4 separate regions of the Homo sapiens genome follow, and all the other regions are linked to region 3. The links are contacts of gene promoters, found by promoter capture Hi-C in blood cells and fetal thymus (Javierre and others, 2016). All regions are on one chromosome and are shown on one strand. The core of a region is centred on a gene start or on the middle of the fragment in contact, and the rest is flanking DNA. Distances in the headings are between cores, read along the strand shown. Region 1 overlaps PPME1 (protein phosphatase methylesterase 1). Region 2 overlaps PPME1 (protein phosphatase methylesterase 1). Region 3 holds the start of UCP2 (uncoupling protein 2). Region 4 overlaps PPME1 (protein phosphatase methylesterase 1).

Evidence for each region. Contacts are between HindIII fragments. The CHiCAGO score rates a contact against its expected background, and 5 or more counts as called.
Region 1: a contact is called between a fragment that was not itself captured here and the fragment with the promoter of UCP2 in region 3, in 1 of 17 cell types (erythroblasts). The highest score is 5.0, in erythroblasts.
Region 2: a contact is called between a fragment that was not itself captured here and the fragment with the promoter of UCP2 in region 3, in 9 of 17 cell types (erythroblasts, megakaryocytes, fetal thymus and 6 more). The highest score is 12.8, in erythroblasts.
Region 4: a contact is called between a fragment that was not itself captured here and the fragment with the promoter of UCP2 in region 3, in 1 of 17 cell types (erythroblasts). The highest score is 6.8, in erythroblasts.

Annotation. Positions count from the first base shown.
Region 1 is chr11:74,192,651-74,196,186 of GRCh38, forward strand. The region is part of intron 1 of PPME1 (protein phosphatase methylesterase 1); the gene reads left to right. Among named protein-coding and RNA genes, the nearest start is that of PPME1, 23 kb to the left of the region's middle. The HindIII fragment of the contact is 3,249 bases long and covers 163-3,411 here.
Region 2 is chr11:74,173,144-74,176,559 of GRCh38, forward strand. All of the region lies in intron 1 of PPME1 (protein phosphatase methylesterase 1), which reads left to right. Among named protein-coding and RNA genes, the nearest start is that of PPME1, 3.6 kb to the left of the region's middle. The HindIII fragment of the contact is 790 bases long and covers 1,099-1,888 here.
Region 3 is chr11:73,980,862-73,984,128 of GRCh38, forward strand. It overlaps UCP2 (uncoupling protein 2), which reads right to left and starts at 1,982. Exons shown (of 8, transcript NM_003355.3): 1 at 1,860-1,982; 2 at 615-771. RefSeq lists silencers at 1,893-2,102, 2,403-2,562 and an enhancer at 2,819-3,267. The HindIII fragment of the contact is 10,071 bases long and covers 654-3,267 here.
Region 4 is chr11:74,226,935-74,230,483 of GRCh38, forward strand. It overlaps PPME1 (protein phosphatase methylesterase 1), which reads left to right. Exons shown (of 14, transcript NM_016147.3): 6 at 3,311-3,465. Among named protein-coding and RNA genes, the nearest start is that of PPME1, 57 kb to the left of the region's middle. The HindIII fragment of the contact is 565 bases long and covers 1,973-2,537 here.

The DNA of each region.
Region 1 (3,536 bases), core at 537-3,036, 210 kb after region 3:
CATGAATGGTTTATTGCCATCACCTTGGTAATGAGTGAGTTCTTGCCCTGAGTTCTCTCCAGATCTGGTTGTTTAAAAAGAGTGTGGCACCTCCCCCTTCTCTTGCTTCTGCTCTCACCTTGTGACACAGATGCTCCCACTTCACCTTCCACCATGATTATAAGCTTCCTGTGGCCCTTACCAGGAACAGATGCTGGTACCATGCAGAACCATTAGCCAGTTAAACCTTTTTATAAATTACCCAGTCTCAGGTATTATGTTACAGCAAGAACAGACTTAACACATCCCTCAGCTGCTTCTGATGTTTCTTCTCACCTAAAAAAATAAAATACCGTGTTCAGTAACTTTTTAATCAAACACAACATTGTAGGTGGGAGACTGAAAGCCTGCCATTGTTGGTTGTTGCTTTTATTTAATAACTGGTAGAGGTGTTCTGTGATGTTACTGTGCTGGTTGGTTACCCTGAGTACATTATGTTTTTTCACTGTATTAATGGTATGTTGTATCTTTTACTGTTAAGTACTTATGTGTGAATAAGTGTAATAAAAATGATTATTAGTAACGTGTAAGTTCAATCAGGAATGATGGTGATGCCAAACAACCATAGATTTTCCACATGGGTGGCTAAGATAGTGACACCGTTGCTTTCTGATGGTTCAGTTTACACAAACTTTGTTTTGTGCACAAAATTATTAAAAACATTGTTTAAAATTACCTCCAGGCCATGTGTATAAGGTCTTTATTAAACATAAATGAATTGTGTGTTTAGACTTAGGTCCCATCTCCAGGATATCTCATTGTGTATATGCAGATAATCCAAAATTAAAAAGGAAACAATAAACTGAAATTTGAAACCCTTCTGGTCCCAAGCATTTTGGATGAGGGATACTCAACCTGTACGGCCTCTTCAAATACTGCTTTTATTTCACTGTCTTTATTTCCTTTCAGAACTTCAGTTTGACATATTTAAGACTTATTTACTCTTCCCTTCATATTTCTTAACTTTTGTATTTTCCATCTTCTATTTGTATTTTGGATTCTAAATGTATCTAGATGTATCTGAACAAATTCACTACTAGTTTACGCTTCTCCTTAGCTGTGTCTAATATGTTAAACTTGACTATTTGTTTTTTAATTTTAATTCTTTTCATTCTAGGAGCTTGTTTCAAGTTTCTGTTCATTTAAATGTGTTAAGCAGTTATTTTATATTGTATTTGATAATTTCTTTATGTGAACTCTTTACAGGTCTGTTTCCTCACGTATTTTATGCTTTTTGATTGTGAGATGGTCATTTGCCTTGGAACTTTCTTAAAGTTCTTAGTCCTAGAATGAAGATTGATTCTTCAAAGAGGATTTGCCTTTGTTTCTCTTGGGGGTCCTGAGGGCACTACCAGTTGGATCCACTTTACATTCTCATCTTGAAACTTCTTGGGATATGTAAATGATATGTATTTAGCTCCATATCAGTTTGAGAGCTGTCTTTGTTTTTTCTTGCTTCTCCCTTCTCAATGCTAAGTTTTAAGACAGGCCTTTTTTTATTTTATTTTTTATTTTTTAATTTAATCCTGAGATTGTGGTAAGAAGCAGAAAGTTAATTCTGTTTCAGCCTTTCACTGAGCTTATGATTCTTTGGGATCCCAGCTTGATGGAGAAAGGTTTCCTACTGGGCTCCGCAGCAAGACTTCCCACCTCGGGCTTTGTGTCCTGTTCTGTGTGCATCGCAAAACTTCAAGTTCAGACAGTTGGCAAATGCCATCAAGGTAAAAGCCAGATTTAATGGTCTAAGTGCCTCTCTGGATTCCCACCTTACTTAACTTTTGACCTGGGTCTTCCCTGTTCCTTACTTTCTTGCCAGCTCATCTATGCGTTTAAGAAGAACGAATGACTATATAATTACAATATATAAGATCATTATATATAATTATTTAATAATTATACACTATGATTGTATAAATATAACATCTATTTATATAATATTTTTCACACAAATACTTACATATAATTTTAGCCAATATTTCTCAAGTTGGATCTATTAATTACCATAGACAGAAGCAGTCCCTAATATAAGATGTCTATACTCAGGCAGACTGTCAGTCATTGTGTGAAAATGGGGAACGCTATTTTCAACATGCAAAGTTTCAAAATTAATGTCCCTTTCTCATGAAGCTGATGGAGGATGTGTTTCATCAAAATAAGAGACTACAACAAGAAAAATATGGGATATGGGATAAGGGATTCAACACAGGTGAAAGGCAAGAAGAATTCCTGAGATGATACTAAATTGTTAGCAGTTCATTATATCAGACAGCAGGCAGTCCTATTTGGAGCAGATGAATGGAGGATGCCAGAAATGGAAATTTGAGTGAAAAATAGACCTGGTAGATTATTTAATGTGAATGACCAAATATTAAGAGAAGTTTTACAGAATTCAAAGGCTTTATTTGTTTAAAATTGTGAAATACTCATACAGAAAAGTAAAGTATATATGTACAGTTCAAAGAATAATAAATTCTCATGTGTCCGTCACCTAGCTTAAGAAATAAAACATTATCAGCACCTTAGAAACCTGTTTGTCTCTCCTCGAGAGCATCTCTGTTTCCCACACTGGTATTGAATTGCATGATAATCAGTGCCTGGCTTTTCTTTATTGTTTTACCACTTGTGCATGTATACATTAAAAATACATTATTTAGCTTTGCCTGTTTTTGAACACTATTATTAATGGAATTATACAGGATTCAGTCTTCTGTGCTTATTTCTTTCTCTAAGTATTTTTCAGATTCATGTACTTTTAAATTTATTTTCACTGCTATGCTATATTCTATTACCCAGATACATCACAGTTTGTATATTCTATTGGTGATGCATATTTAGCTTGCTTCTTATTCTTTGCTTTTATAGACATGTGTCTACAAACATTCTTATATGTGTGTTTTGATGCCTATGTGCAGGAGGTTCTCTGTAAAGTAAAATTACCAGGTTGAAGGACACCTGTCTAATTTTATTAGGTGATGCCTTACAGTTTTCCAAATAATCTTCCCTGTTTCCTTGTTAATACCTGTTAATGTCTGGCTTCCTATATTTTGTCAACATGATGGATGTGAAATATGATACTTCACTGTAATTTAAATTTTATGTATCTTAAATTGGAAACCTTTTCATATCTTTATGGGCTGTTTGTGTTTCCTCCTTAGGGAAAAGCATATTAATGTCTTTTGCCTATCAAAAAGTTTTGGGAAACAGTTAGTGACACTTTAATAGAAAACTAAGCAAACAAAATTAAAAAGACAATTATTCTGGAAAAAAGCAAAAAGTTGTACAAGAAGTACAATTGGTATACCATGTGGCTCAACTATAAACAGTGTTTCTATAATGACTAACAGGAAGTACTTACTAATAATCACTTTGCAAAGCTTACAGTTGAAGAAATTGAGACAGATTAATTTGCCAACAGTCACATAGCTTGTAATTATTGGAAATGAAATTTAGACTAAAAGAATCTGACTTCAGAGCCCATGTTCTTATCCATGAAACTA
Region 2 (3,416 bases), core at 244-2,743, 190 kb after region 3:
TTGTTTTGGCTTTGGAAGACAGAAAAGTTGGACTATAACATGAATAAAGAGAATTTGGAAACTGACCCATAACATTATTTGGGAAAACTAACCTGGAGTTTAATATTAATGTAACATTAATTGTTGTTAAATATCTTAGTTGCTGCCTTTCTTAAAATAAATTTGATTTTTCAGTATACCAGCACCCTTCTATACAAATACATAAGAAAATCAGATTTTTAATAATTATACATTCCTTAGATAAGCTTAATTAGAGCTCAGCTTCTCATCTTGGAGAAACAAGTTCTCTGAAGATTGAAGAACTGAATGAAGATACTGAGAGAAAAAAAAAGGAAAATCTGCTGATTAGAAGATTGTATAATTGTTAGTAATTTATCGTTTTTATTTTTTATTACTTTTCATTTTATTTTTTTTTAGAGACAGAGTCTCACTCTGTTGCCCAGGCTAGAGTGCAGTGGCACAATCTCGGCTCACTGCAACTTCCACCTCCCGGGCTCAAGTGATTCTTGTGCCTCAGCCTCCCAAGTAGCTGGGATTACAGGCATGCACCACCACGCCCGGCTAATTTTTGTATTTTTAGTAGAGAGGGGATTTCGCCATGTTGGCCAGGCTGGTCTTAAACTCCTGGCCTTAAGTGATCTGCCCCACTTGGCTTCCCAAAGTACTGGGATTATAGGAGTGAGCTACTGTGCCTGGACAACTTACCTTTTTAAAAAGATGCTTTGGTCTTCTTGGTTTAGGTTAACTGCTTATCCTGGAAAAGAAAGTTCTTTAGAAAGGCCTTTCTTTATGATAGTATTGTGAAGAGAAGAGCATATATTGGCGAATATTTGTGTGGTCCTCAAATGGCTTATTTTCCCGTATCTTTCTTTTCTACTTTATTGGTATATAAGCAGGCTTCATCTAAGTCTCATGGTAGTAATAATATAGATTCTCTTTCTCCTTAGAATCATAAAGCTGAGAGAAAGCATAGACATGGTCTCATTTCACCACTTCATGTAGTTGAGGAACCCAATATTCAGAGAGTTCTGTATTCTATAAGGGAATGTATTAATAAATGAGGGAACTGAGACTCAGATATTCCTAAGGTACCCTAGAAGCTTAGCGGTAGGGCCGTTAAGGACTAGGACTTGGGTCTCTTGACTGTGAGACCCATTGTGTATTTTGGAGTCATAATTGTCATCTGGGGATACTTATTTTGAGTTGTGTATCTTACTCATTTGCATATAATCTAGGATTCAGTCTTTTTCTTCAGTCGTAATTTATGAAGTCTCACACCAATTTCAAAGCATTCTTTATGTCTCCTTATGCTTACTTGCTTTTTTCTTAACTTCCATTCTTCCACTCTATCTATGTTACTCACAAGTTAGTCCTGTTCTCTTGATAGTCTCTTGTGTGGCTTACTCTTAACTATTTTTCATGATCTCTTGCCTTCAATTTCACTAAACATTATTTAGGCATGTTTGCATATTCAGGGTGCATATTCTGAGTTGGTGATTTTTCATGAGTTTCCATAATTCAGTTTTTCAGATTAGATTTAGTAATTCCAAAGTATTGTTGGATAATTTAATAATAGCAATTTTTAAAGTAAGTACTGTGTGCCAGACATTGTAATGGTAACTTTATGTTATTTAATGTGTCCACAGACCTGCATGGTGAATATTTTCCTGCATTGTGGGTAAAGACATTCAGACCCAGAGATTAAAAGTAACCCAACTAGTAGGTAGCAGAGCTAGGATTCAATCTAAGTTTAGTCTCTAGAATCCATTCACTTTTCAGTACACTAATATTTTCTCTTGGGTAAGGCCTGAAATCCTGGTGTCACTCTTCCTTTTAATAGATGCCAATGGATGTTGCCAAAAACAGTGGTTTTGAACTTCTTTATTAAAGCTTTTAGAGCTACTCTGACTAAAGTAGATTTGAGATCCCTATTTGCTTTGCACCCCTGGTGTGCTTGAGAGAAGTATCTTTTGAAAGTCACTGCTTTCGTATATACTATTACTATTAGAGGAACTATAAAATATTAAAGCCATTCATTATTCAACGTGTTTTTGGTTTATCAGTAGTTGTACTTTTTGGCCAGGTGTGGTGGCTCATGCCTGTAATCTCAGCACTTTGGGAGGCCGAGGCGGGTGGATCACCTGAGGTCGGGAGTTCAAGACCAGCCTGACCAACATAGAAAAACACCGTCTCTCCTAAAAATACAAAATTAGCTGGCGTGGTGGCACATGCCTGTAATCCCAGCTACTCAGGAGGCTGAGGCAGGAGAATCACTTGAACCTGGGAGGCGGAGGTTGTGGTGAGCCGAGATCGCGCCATTGCACTCCAGCCAGGGCAACAAGAGCGAAACTCCATCTCAAAAAAAAAAAAGTTCTACTTTTCTATTATTATCTCTTAAATTCCTTTTTTTTTCTTTTGCAAGAGATAGAGTCTTGCTGTGTTGCCCAGGCTGAAGTACAGTGGCTTTTCACAGGCATAATCTTGGTGCATTACAACCTCAAACTCGTGGGCTCAAGCAGTCTTCCCACTTCATCCTCTTGAGTAGGTAGGACTGAGGATACATGCTAGCATGCCCAGCTCTGTAGTGATTTAACTGACATGTATATAGTAGTCCCTTTTTATATTCTATGAGGTAAACTAGGGCAGGAGTTAATATTTTCTTTTAATAAATGAGAAAACTGAAATGTTCATTGACTTGCCTAAGATCACAGAATCATTATGTGGCAGGAACAACATTCAAACCCAGGACTTCGTATTTTTAGTCCATTGTTCTTTCTATAGCTTGCATTGAAGGGTTTGATATTTGAAGTGACAAAGATCTAAGTTTGAAGCCCAACTTAGGTATTTACATTGGTCGAGTCATTTAACTTCTCATAGTCTATTTTCTTATCTCTAAAATGAGAATACTTCTGCTTACCTGAGAGTGCTGTGAGAATAAGATAATACATAAAAAGCACTTATAGTTCCTGACACTGACACATAAGCTCTTAAAGAATGATAGCTAGTAGATAATTATACATTGAGAACTGTGAAGAAGGTTCATAGTTTATGTGGAAGCTCTCCTTTCAGTTTCTTATGTTATCAGCTTTTTTGTCCCCACAAGCTGTATGTTTATTCATATCTGATTAGATAGTCTTTCATCCATCTTCTTAAATTTATTATGGATATCAGGCCTCTTAGGAAGGCTTTAATGAGCTATTCACACAGATGGGGAAATAAAGGGCAAAGTGAAGTGATTTGCTCAAGGTCACAAATTGAGTTACTAAAATAATCAAATCCCAGTATTTCTGTTTTTTTTTTTATTTTTTCATTAGATTTTTAAAAAGTTAAATTTATATGCCATAGAATTCACTCTTTTAAATGTACAATTCAGTGATTTTTGGTATATTCACTCAGTTGTACAATTACCACCACTA
Region 3 (3,267 bases), core at 732-3,231:
TCTGTCACATTCCTGACCTTGAGCTGGGTTGCAGGATGTTGTGAAGGCCAGAGAAGAATAAGACCCAGCTGCTGCCCAAAGACAAGTGCACAGAGGTTCAGCTGCCATATTCTGAATGTTGCCTTGGGCTTGCCAAGTCAGGTCCTTCAGAGGGTGGGTAAGATGGCCCTACTAACAGCAATTAAAATGCAGGACTAGAAATAGTTAATCCTATTTTACAGTCCCCAGCAAATAACCAGTTTCAGAGCCGGGCTGATTACCAATCTCGGTTTCAGGGATAGTCAAAAGCTAGCATCAATATGAAGTTAGAACAATAGGTTCCTGTCCTAGCTCTTCTGCTGGCTCCCGGGATGACTTGGGGCCAATCACTGTTACACGTGGGCCTCAGTTTTCTCCTTTATAAAATGGGGACCAAGATCCTTGGCTTGTCCGAGTCAGCTGAAGGGCCAGAATGAGAGCGGGGAGGTGTGAGAGTGCTCTGTGAACTGGAAAGAGCCACTTCACTGTCGGGGGTGGGGATGGTAATTATTTTTGTTAATGCCCTGCTGACTCCTGCCCCTAGACCACAGGGTTAGGAGGCAGCAAGAGACCTCTTCCTTGGACTGGACTCTTACCCGGCTTTGTAAGGTCTCACGGTGAGGCCTCCAAGATCAAGCTTCTCTAAAGGTGTCCCGTTCTTCAAAGCTGCCAGTGGCTATCATGGCCCGATCCCCTTGGTTTTCCATAGAAAATGGGTGGGAGACGAAACACCTAATGGTCATACTATGTGTCCTGTGGGTGAGCAAAGGCAGAGAGTTTAGAAAGGGCCACCTGCCCCAAGACACACAAGCCCACCCAATCCATGCCTTGGAGGGGGATGGGGAACAGGGCCCAGGGACTGGTTAAGTGCACACACTGGAAAGGGGAAAAGCAGGGCGGAAAATGAACCTAGGTACACTCCCCACCCCCACCCCACCTGCTTAATATCACAAATTGGTTCTCATCCAGACTTCTGCTTTTGTAACACTCAGTACTCTATATAAGCACCCCCTAGCACAGTCATCAGACTTTGGTGAGTGGGAGAGTTGTGAGGGGGTCACGATGGGACAGAGACTCTCCGGGAATTGGCTAGGTCCCAGGTCGGGCTGTGAGGAGGTTGGAAGGGCTGGGAGCCGGCCCTGCAGAGGCCAGATTGAGCAGCTCAAAGCCCACTAGAAAAAGCCCCCAAGCCCTGGGAAAGGCGGTGCAGGAACACTGCCTGGAGCTGCCTGGTAAGGGAGAGGTCATTGTGGTCATCGCTGATGGTCCCCATCCAAGGCAGGGCTCGGCATCGTGGTGGAAAGGAGGGAGTGAAAAGGTGGAGGCTCAAACGACAGCCAACTGAACGGGAGAGGGAAAGAACAAAAGGGACTAAGAAAAAGAGAGAAGAGAAATAAAGAACCAAGGACAGAAAGGATTAGCACAGGCCGGACCCGGAGGCTCATGCCTAAAATTCTAGGACTTTGTGAGGCCGAGGCGGGCGGATTGCTTGAGCTCAGCAGTTCGAGGCCAGCCTGGCCAACATGGCGAAACCCCATCTCTACAAAACACAAAAATTAGCCAGGCGTGGTGGCGGGCGCCTGTAATCCCAGCTACTCGGCAGGCGGATCGCTTGAACCTGGGAGGTGGAGGCTGCAGTGAGCCGAGATCGCGCCACTGCACTCCAGCCTGGGAGACAGAGCGAAAGCCTGTCTCAAACAAACAAACAAAAACAAAAAATAAAACCGAGAGAAAGAAAAGAGTACAAACTTGGGTGGGAGAGAAGGTAAATGGAAGAGCGGGCAGCGCACGCAGAACAAGCGTGGGGGGCGCAAAGGGCGCAGGGCTGGGGCCAGGCTCACCGAGCCGCAGGGAGAACACGGCAGTGCGTGCGGCTGTGTCTGTCGGCTGGCGGAGGGCGCGTCGGACGAGCCGGGCGAGCGTGGACAGTCAATCCCAAGGCGCGCGCAGCTGGGCTTCGCAGTGGGGCTCCGCGCAGGCGGCGGCGCGGCTTAAGCCTCGGGGGCGGGGCCCGGGGTGGGGCCTGCGGGGCGGGGCCGGGCCTGCCAGCTCCTACTTGGGTGCGGAGACCCTGGAGCAGCCGCCTTTCCGCGGGGACCGCCCCGCCTAGGGTTCTCTCCATGACTTTCTCCACTCCCGTTTCCGTGCGTCCCATCACCGCGTTTACTCCTTCGTTCCCCGAGATGGTCACTCCCTTGCCACTCCCCGCCTCTGCCTCACACTCTCTCGGGCCGCCAACCTCTGTGAGGATGGCAAGACTGACCGCCAGAAACAAGTCTTGTCCAGTCACACACCTCTTGCCTTCCCAGCCAGGACGGTTTCTAACAGCGTCCAGCGGGGCCGTGTCTTAAGTGCACTTCCTCTTTTATGGGCCCAGCCCCCCTACGCTGGGCAAACTACCCACCCTCCTGCGAGCGAGCGCGCGGCTGGCTCCTGCAGGGCGGGACTGGGGCCTCGCGACCGGCCTCGCTGTCGATTGGTTACAGCCGCCGCGTTGTCGGGGGAAGGAACCAATCAGAACTGCAGCAACAGGTGGCCCGGCAACCGACAACAGCCGTTGGGCTCGGCTGGGGTTCGCGCCTTCTCCCCCGGTGGAGCGGCCTGGCGTTTAGGGACCAGGACACTAAAGGCCCCGGCGGGGCGGGAGCACCCAGCGTGACCTCACGCTCCTACACACAGACAAGCAAACGGGCCGGCCCCCGCACGTGACAAGGCAGAGCCGGGCCCAGGCCAGCTGCCTGTCCAGCCCTGGGATGAGAAAAGGCGTCAGGAGATGGACCGGGCCTGGTTCGCCTTTAATTGGCTGACCCGTCCTGTGGGGGTAACTGACGCGTGAACAGCCAACAATTGGGCCCTCTGGCCGGGACAAACACGTGCGTTTGGGGAGTAGAAGAAGGCTGGTATTAACCTCCATTTTACAATGAGGAAACGGAGTCCCAAAGACGTTCAGTCATCTTCCTGATATTCACACACTTACACCCTGGTCAGGCCGGCGCCATATGTGTTTTCACCAGCAGAAGGGACTGCCAGGGAACAGCTGAGGGGACCAGAGCTGGGATGGGCCTGGATAATTATAGCGGAAAGAAAAACACGCCGAGCGCATGGTCCTGGCAGAAGCAGCGTGGAAACAGAAGTCAAGGCAGATTATTTCTGCCATGAGGAGATCTTGCCATGTAGGAAAAAAGAAAGAAAGAGAGGAAAGAAAGACAGAGAGAGAGAGAGGAAAGACAGAAAGACAAGAAAGAAAGA
Region 4 (3,549 bases), core at 1,005-3,504, 250 kb after region 3:
CAGGGTTGAGATCCAGACCTTGTTGGAGAATGCACGACCATGGTTTACTGAAGGTTAGAACTTGCTGAAAATCTGCCCTTTTGGAACCTGACAGAATTCTGCCCTCTAGGGTATAGGGAAAGCTATTCGTGGGGAGGATCTCACCAGAGGCACTTGGCTACAAAAACACTGGGTTGGGGAGGGCTAGAGTACTGGAGAAGCCACTTGTGCTGGAGGAATTGTGCAGGAATTGGCAGGAGTTGGATACTGGGGGAAGTTCTGTGTTTCTCTAGCACCCTCCATTAACATAGCTTAATATCATGCCTACTGGCAAGGGTAAAATATTTACAGGCCTCACATCTATTTTTGTAGAGTAGGCAATGAAGGATGAATTGGAGTTGAGGTAGTAAGTTGATAACTGGCACCAAAAAAATTTTTTAATGGTAAAAATCATCCACAGTAGATGATGACCAAGAATCAAAAGGGCGAACAAATTGGATTCTTGCTGAAATTATCCAAGCAGTAAAACATTTGTGTGATTTCTGAATTCAGTTACTGTGGAAAAAAAAAAACCTCAAAATGGGCATACTTATTATCAACTGCAGAACCTAAATACTACCTAAGAAAGTATGTGAAAAAGCCAGAATTTGAGCTTGGGTCATTCTGATATTCCAATTTCTGTGATACACAGTAATGCTTCTCAGAAAATTAACCTAGCATTAAAATATGACAGAATCCCTTTAAAAAGCATCCACCAAAATTGTAATACATCCAGTTACAGTCTAGATTTGTAGGTAACCCTTGCTACTTCATCTTTATTGTATTTCTCTGGATTTTCAGGACTTATCTCAAGTAAGGTACTTGTTGACTGAATGCTCTGCTTGATTTTAATAACAATAAATTTCTCTTGGTGGTAGATGATCAAGTGATTGATCGTAACTACCTTCTACCTGGGTAAATATGCCTTTCTTAAGCTCAGACACGATGTTCAGTTGGTGTGTTTCAGACCTCTCTACCTTTGTGCATGAGGCAGATACTGCAGAACCCCTTCAATTCAGTTAATGTGTATTTTAAGGTGACTTGGACTTAGATAATCGTCCATAGCATCCTTTTATTTTACTCATTATTTGTCTGTTACCAACCGAAAGTTTCTTGGAATTGTTCAAGAATTATTCTGGAAATTACATGTTGATATTTAATATAAACATGTTTTAAACTTTAGTCTTTTCTTTAAAAAAAAAAAAACAGTTTGCCCCCAAAATTGTATCCAATATTGTTTTAGATTAATTAATTGAGCATATAATTTTTTCTGGTCTGTTATTTTAATATGCAGAATTAGCTTTGGAATACTACCTGTTTTATTTTTTAGAAACTGTATGTGTAATAATTTCCTCTGTGTTACTACTCTAAAGACCACATATTATCGAATCTTTGTTCCTGATATTTTCCAGTGGCCTCTGAGCAAAGGCATCATGGTTTTGACTTCATGAAATTACTCTGAATTCACACTACCCTATGCCAAGGGGAGATGGCTTTACCATTTATGCCTGAGGTTGCAATTTTTTGAATTTTTGCAATCAGAACTTGGTGATGACCTTGGGCAGTAGGATATAAATAACTCCCACATGCTTAGTGTTCCAGTAGTGGAACACTAGCATAAATTGGTTAACTCGTTGAAACATTGAAAATATGTTTCAGTGAGGTAACAAGAATCTGCAGCTCTTTTTACTTGGTAGAAATGCAATAATATTTTTATAGACCCAGTGAGAAAATGCAATAATATTTTTATAGACCCAGTGAGATTAATTGATTAATACAGAACCTTCTAGACAGGGCTGCTGAAGGATTACGTTAGGTGATGTTATAAGAAAGTTTAGAGCACAACTGAAAAAGAAGCACTGAATAAGTATTAGTTCTCTTTTCTTTCCTTCATATCATTTTGTCTCCCAGAGAGAATTTTGTGTTACTATAGAAGCAGCACTGGTGTCAAAGAAGCTTGGACTTTTCGTCTTAACTATTTGTTATCGCTTTGGATGACTGCCTGAACTGCTTCACTTTCTGTCTTAATCTTAAATTTAAGTCGAACGAATATTAAACTATTTGTTTTCACTTACAAAGTTTGGTGGCCTCCCTATCTCCCATTCAGATTGTCTACAATTGCCGAGGCTACCCTATTCACTCCTGCAGTTGTTGTATGAGATTTTAAAAATCAGTTCCTACAGAACTAATAACATTTGCCTTTGCCATTATAAATACTGTAGAGACTATATATGAAAGTCTGTGTTCCTACCTTGACACTTGCTATATTTGGTTAACACTGTGTGAGTGCTTAAGGTATGCAGTGACACTCAACAAGACAAAACTTTCTTTTGAAGTTGAACCAGCCACTCCCAAAAGAAGGGGGTAGAACTAGCCTAAAAATATATATATATAATAAGGCAGTAGAGCCAGTGGGTCTCCAGAAACACACCTTACTGTTCTTATCCACCTATTGCTATAGCAAGGAAGGCCTACATGCAATTAAAAACCAAACTTCATACTTCAGTTCTAATTTTCAAAGCTTTAAAATTAGACTTTGTTAAATAGGTCCATTAATAATTGAAGATTAGAACCAAAGCCAATAAAATGAGCTCTGAACACCTTTCTAGTTTCTCAGAGCACTGTACTTACATTTATGTTCATCCTTCAAACAAATGAGAAATTGTAAATAATAATTAACATTTGTGAAGCATTTTACTCTTTCGAGGTGTTTTCTTGTTCCCTTCTCAGTTAATCCTCAAAGCAATCCAGAGCAGTCAGTGATATTTTTATCTTTTTTTATAGATGTCGAAACTCAGTTTCTGAGAGATTAAGTAACTAACCCAAGATCACATAGTGAAAAATAAACTGAGGCTAGGGCTCATCTTGTGATTCTGAGGTTTACTACATTATAATGCTTAATAAATTTTTGTTCTTGTTTTATAGATGGGAAAATTGAAACAGAGCAGTTAAATGATTTTTCCAGTTTCAATCTTAGGTTCAAAATAAAGGTATATGTTTATGTAATTGTACTACATATGTGGAACAGTGAAAGTGTGATGTAAAGGAAAATTCAGTAATTTGGGTTCTTAGTCCTTTACCTGCCATTTATCAGGAGAGCTAGGTGTGTGGCTACACATATTGATGCTGGGGACATGTTAGAAGGTTTACATAGGTATGTTTGTAAGATGGCCCAATAGACTTTTACAGTTTCCCAGCACTGTTACACACCAAAGAAAGGAACTGGGAAAGAAAACCATTTTTACAGTGTTGTCAGAAAGCATTCTTAGATCTTTTTCTCTTCTCTTTGCAGAGACGTTGGCAATGTGGTTGAAGCCATGTATGGGGACCTTCCTCCTCCAATTATGCTGATTGGACATAGCATGGGTGGTGCTATTGCAGTCCACACAGCATCATCCAACCTGGTACCAAGCCTCTTGGGTCTGTGCATGATTGATGTTGTAGAAGGTGAGTTTTCTTAGCACTGACCAAATCAGGATTTCACTTATAAGAGACATCCTTGGTAGATTATTACCTTGTCTTAGTTTATTG